Linked DNA regions of Homo sapiens: region 2 is linked to region 1. The links are contacts of gene promoters, found by promoter capture Hi-C in human tissues and cell types (Jung and others, 2019). All regions are on one chromosome and are shown on one strand. Each heading gives the region's core, a stretch centred on a gene start or on the middle of the fragment in contact. The rest is flanking DNA. Distances are from core to core; before and after follow the strand shown. Region 1 holds the start of MUC20 (mucin 20, cell surface associated). Region 2 has its middle 33 kb from the start of LINC00885.

The links. The method cuts DNA at HindIII sites, captures the fragments that hold promoters and counts their contacts. A contact is called where the count stands out against the background at its distance.
Region 2: a fragment that was not itself captured here is called in contact with the fragment with the promoter of MUC20 in region 1 in 1 of the 25 tissues and cell types used here (IMR-90 fibroblasts).

The regions. Positions count from the first base shown.
Region 1 is chr3:195,719,728-195,722,427 of GRCh38, reverse strand. MUC20 (mucin 20, cell surface associated) reads right to left here and starts at 1,450. Exons shown (of 4, transcript NM_001282506.2): 1 at 1,345-1,450. The coding sequence starts at 1,420. The HindIII fragment of the contact is 11,607 bases long and covers 1-2,700 here.
Region 2 is chr3:196,174,161-196,176,860 of GRCh38, reverse strand. No RefSeq gene overlaps it. Among named protein-coding and RNA genes, the nearest start is that of LINC00885, 33 kb to the right of the region's middle. The HindIII fragment of the contact is 4,018 bases long and covers 1-2,700 here.

The DNA of each region.
Region 1 (2,700 bases), core at 201-2,700:
AAGTCTCTCAGCTCCAAGCCTGCATTTCCGCACCTGTAAGGTGGAGCTAACGGGACACGTGCAGCGCAGACCAGGCCACGGTGAGCACAGGCAGGAGGCCACGGGGTGCAGTGCTCAGGCCTGTGAGGAGTCAGATTCTGGCTCCGAGGAGTTGTTACTGGATGCCCAGAAGCACAGTGGCCTCACCCTTAAAGCAGTGGAGGTGGGGGGTGGTAAAAACAGGGCCGATCTTGCAGGGCCGTTGTGAGGATTAAAAATACAATGTATGATAATGATGCATCAAAGTAGGTTCCTCAGTCCTATCAAATGTGCCACTCTGGTGGGGGACGCTGATGATGGGGGAGGCTGTGAGTGGTGGGGATGGGAACTCCAGACTCTCCACTGCAGCTTTTTTTTTTTTGAAACATAGTTTCACTTTTGTTGCCCAGGCCAGAGCGCAAGGGTGCGATCTCAGCTCACTGCAAACTCCACCTCCCAGGTTCAAGCAATTCTCCTGCCTCAGCCTCCCGAGTAGCTGGGATTACAGGCACCTGCTACCACCCCCGGCTAATTTTGTATTTTTAGTAGAGACGGGGTTTCTCCATGTTGGTCAGGCTGGTCTCGAACTCCTGACCTCAGGTGATCCACCCACCTCAGCCTCCCAAAATGCTGGGATTACAGGTGTGAGCCACCACGCCCGGCCTCTCCACTCGAGGTTTAGAGGGAGCATAGAACTAAAAAAAAAATAAATCCTTTTCTATTTTTTAATGTATGTGATGAGTTTGGCACAACTCCTATTAGCGACAGGTCAGGGTTCATTCCCGTCTTTCACAAAAGCCCTGCCTGTCAGCATCCACCCTTCCCAAGCAGTTTGTGGCAGTTGGACTTTTCACACGAAATCTGTATTTTGAAGGAAATCCATGCTAGGTAATAAACTGGGAGGAGTCAGAATCTTGTTAAGCCACATTCTTCAGCTTTCTGCACAATGATCACCAGCTGGCACCTCCCTGCACCCCCGCTCCGTGCCCCACTTACTGTCCCACGTTCATAAAGACAAACTCTCAGCCATCCCTTACGATGGCAGCGTCATGGTTGATTAGCGTGTACTGCAGCGCCAGGCACGCTTACACTCACACACATCGTCATGGTTGATTAGTGTGTACTGCAGCGCCATGCACGCTTACACTCACACTGTCATTTGCACACTCTTTATCAACAATAATAGCACTTCACAAGTAGCACTGTGGTTCATTATAATCAACCCGAGAGAGCCTGCCCTTGCCCATGAAGGGTGGCTCATACTGAAATTCACTCCCAGAGCCCTACTAGGGGAGAGGCCCACCAGGCCCTTCTAGGCCTCCTTACCTGCAGAGCTCCCAGAGACCCCAACCTCCCAGCAGAAGAAGAAAAGGGGCAGAGCCAGACCCCAGAGACAGCCCATCCTAGCCGGCCACCGCTGCTCCACAGAACTGCTGGCTGTCTCTCGCGGGTACCTTTTCCTGCTTCCTCAAACCAGGGAGGAGGGGCAGCCTCCTGCCCAGGTGTGTGACCAGGTGATCACAAATGTGCAGGCTGAGGGCTGGCAGGTTGAGGCTGTCAGCAAGCTGACCCCCCTGCCTTCCTTGCCCGGTAAACACTCCACTGAAATTTGATTTGAAGATATGGAATCACTAGCTTCTTTTTTTTTTTTTGAGATGGAGTCTTGCTCTGTCACCCAGGCTGGAGTGTACAGTAATGAGATCTCAGCTCAATGAAACCTCTTCCTCCCGGGATCCAACAATTCTCCTGCCTCAGCCTCTGGAGTAGCTGGGATTATAGGCGCGCACCACCACGTCGGGCTAATTTTTGTATTTTTAGTAGAGATGGGGTTTCACCATGTTGGCCAGGCTAGTCTCAAACTCCTGACCTCAGGTGATCTACCTACCTCAGCCTCCCAAAGTGCTGGGAGTACAGGCATGAGCCACTGCACCCAGCCAAGTGCTTTTATTTTCTTAAGCCAATTAATTAGAGCTCTTTTATATATTTTCAGTAGCAAAACACTGTGTACACAACAACACATAAATACACAGATGTATTAGGTATGCTGAAAGAAGTTCATCTTATAGATTCATAAAGAGCTTTTTTCTTACACCTTCAAATTCTTTTTTACTTTTTTTTTTTTTTTTTTTGAGACAGAGTCTCACTCTGTTGCCCAGGCTGGAGTGCAATGGCTTGATCTCGACTCACTGCAAACTCTGCCTCCTGGCTTCAAGTGATTCTCCTGCCTCAGCTTCCTGAGTAGCTGGGATTATAGGCACCTGCCACCACATCTGGCTAATTTTTTTTGTATTTTTAGTAGAGACGGGGTTTCAACATGTTGGCCAAGATGGTTTTGAACTCCTGACCTCAAGAGATCTTTGCGGCTCAGCCTCCCAAATGCTAGGATTACAGACGTGAGCCACCGTGCCCAGCCACACCTTCGAATTCTTGATAACCTGTTTTACTACTCTAAGCGGTTGTCAGCTAAATAGCCTTGAATTTGCATTTTAAGGAAACTGAGGTGAAAATCGAATAGCAAAATTTACATCATAACGTATGGAGAGAAAAAGTCTGGTGTGCTGGAGGGAAATTAAAACAGATTTAATTGCCAATTAAACATAAAATTATAGAAATTATAAAGGCCTTTTAAATATATACACACACACAAAGATCCTATAGCTTTTACTTCAGAAATTTAGCCAT
Region 2 (2,700 bases), core at 47-2,546, 450 kb before region 1:
AAATTTTGTCCAGGCGCGGTGGCTCACGCCTGTAAACCCAGCACTTTGGGAGGCCGAGGCGGGCGGATCACCTGAGGTCAGGGATTTGAGACCAGCCTGGCCAACATGGCAAAAATTTGTCTCTACTAAAAATAGAAAAATTAACCAGGTGCGGTGGCACATGCCTGCAATCCCAGCTACTTGGGAGGCTGAGGCCGGAGAATCGCTTGAACCCAGGAGGTAGAGCTTGCAGTGAGCTGAGATGGTGCCACTGCACTCCAGCCTGGGCAACAGAGCGGGACTTCATCTCAAAAAATAAATAAATAGATAAAAGTTATAAAAACATTTTTAAAATAAAACATTAAAAAAACCACGTTATGGCAAAGCACGATGGCTCACACCTGTAATCTCAGCACTTTGGGAGGCTGAGATGGGTATATATATGTATATAACGTGTTATTTTTATTTAGGGAGTAATTTATAAGTGAAGATTTATTTATTTATTTATTTATTTATTATTTTTGAGACAGAGTCTTGCTCTGTGGCCCAGGCTGGAGTGCAGTGGCACGATCTCGGCTCACTGCAACCTCTGCCTCCCGGGTTCAAGTGATTCTCCTGCCTCAGCCTCCTGAGTAGCTGCGATTACAGGTGCCTGCCACCATGCCCAGCGAATTTTTGTGTTTTAGTAGAGACAGGGTTTCACCATGTTGGCCAGGCTGGTCTTGAACTCCTAACCTCAAGTGATCTGCTCGCTTCGGCCTCCCAAAGTGCTGGGATTACAGGCATGAGCCACTGCGCTCAGCCTAATAAGTGCAAATTTAAATAAAGAATCAGAGAAAAGAAGTGTAGACAACGCTTCGGAGCCATTTTGCTGCAGAGAGAAGGAAGGCAGCGGGTGACGGCTGGAGGAGGATGAGGGAAGCTTCCCTCTTTTGCACGTGAAGCACTAGGTTCAGAGGTTAAGTGACTCACGCAGGCTCACACAGCCAGCCTGGCTCAGCCTGGAATGGCACCCATGCCTCTGACCCCCAGCACTTTCCTGCCCTAGAGGTGCTGCCTCTTTCTTGTGGTCATTATCAGGGTCATCGGATGCTGCCCCTGCATCCGAGGTAGGGTTGGTCTCCCCTGCTCCTACCAGAGCTCCAAGAGTCCCAGAGCCTTGGAGTGAGAAAGGCCCACCCTGTGACCCCTCAACACACTTGTTAGAACATCCTTCTTGCTCGTCTCTTGCTGTGCTATGAGATCAGCTTCCAGAAGTGGGAGTGATGGCGCATCTCTGGTTTAATGCATGCTTATGTGTGTTGCAGAGCTATCGTGCTGTGTAACGGGAACGCTGCAGCCACTGGGCATTGGGTGGTCAGCCGGGGTAGGGGCCTGACTCTGCCATTTGCTCAGTTTGACCCTTGGTCAAGTTCTTCACCTTTTCGGAGGCTCATCTGCAAAAGGGGGCTAATGCCTGCTCCCAGGATGGTACCGAGGACTGAGCGAGCCCAGCAGGGGGGCTGCCTGCCACACAGCAGGCGCCGAGTGAACGAGTGAACGCAGGGGTTTTTCCCGGGCCCCGCCACCACTCCGTTTCTTTCACAGGCAAGTCTGGGTCTCATTGACCTCTCTGGGACCAAGTGCAGACCACCCACCACACACCGCCCCACTGGCTGAGGAGACTAGGACACGGTTTTCTTTTTCTTTTGAATGTTCCCATAGGTTATTGGGGTACGGGTGCTATTTGGTCACATGAGTAAGTTCTTTCGTGGTGATTTGTGAGATTTGGGTGCAACCATCACCCAAGCACTATACGCTGCACTCTATTTGTAGTCTTTTATCCCCCGACCCCCTCCCACCCTTCCCCGCAAGTCCCCAAAGTTAGGACCTGGTTTTCTGAGTTTAGGAGACAGGGTCGCAGCCACTGCCCTGGAGAGAGTTTTACTGGCTCCTGTGAGTGCCAGGATGTGGGCATGAGACAGCTGACACTCAGGCTGAGTCCAAAGATGGCCCCAACTGACCCCACAGCTGTCCTGGAACCTGCTGCTTGGTCCAGTGAACCACAGAATTTGCTGTGGGCTGTTAAGCCAGCCATTACTCCCTGGGGTGATGGACCAAGCCAGTTCCAGCTCAGTCTGTCCATCAAGAAACGGGAATAGCTGATGCCATGTGTGGCCCTCATTTTTCTGCTTCATAAAATGAAAGAGTGGGAGGAGGCAATCTCTAAGCCTCTTCCTGCAACAGAAATTGAGTTTTTTTGTAAATTTTCTTTCTCTCTCTTTCTTTTCTTTTTGTTCTTTCTTTCTCTCTCTCTGCCTCTCTCTCTCTCTCTCTTCCTTTCAACAGAGTCTCTCTCTGTCACCTAGGCTAGAGTGCAGTGGTGCAATCACAGCTCACTGCAGCCTCAACCTCACGGGCTCAGGTGATCCTCCCACCTCAGCCTCCCAAGTAGGTGGTACTACAGGCGCATGCCACCATGCCCAGTGAATTTTTGTATTTTTTGTAGAGACAAGATTTCACCATGTTGCCTAGGCTGGTCTTGAACTCCTGGGCTCAAGTGATCCACCTGCCTCAGCCCCCCAGAGTTCTGGGATTATAGGTGTAAGCTGCTATACCCGGCCTTAAGATGTCATTTGAGGGCCGGGCGAGGTGGCTCAAGCCTGTAATCCCAGCCCTTTGGGAGGCCAAGGCAGGTGGATCACTTGAGGTCAGGAGTTTGAGACCAGCCTGGCCAACATG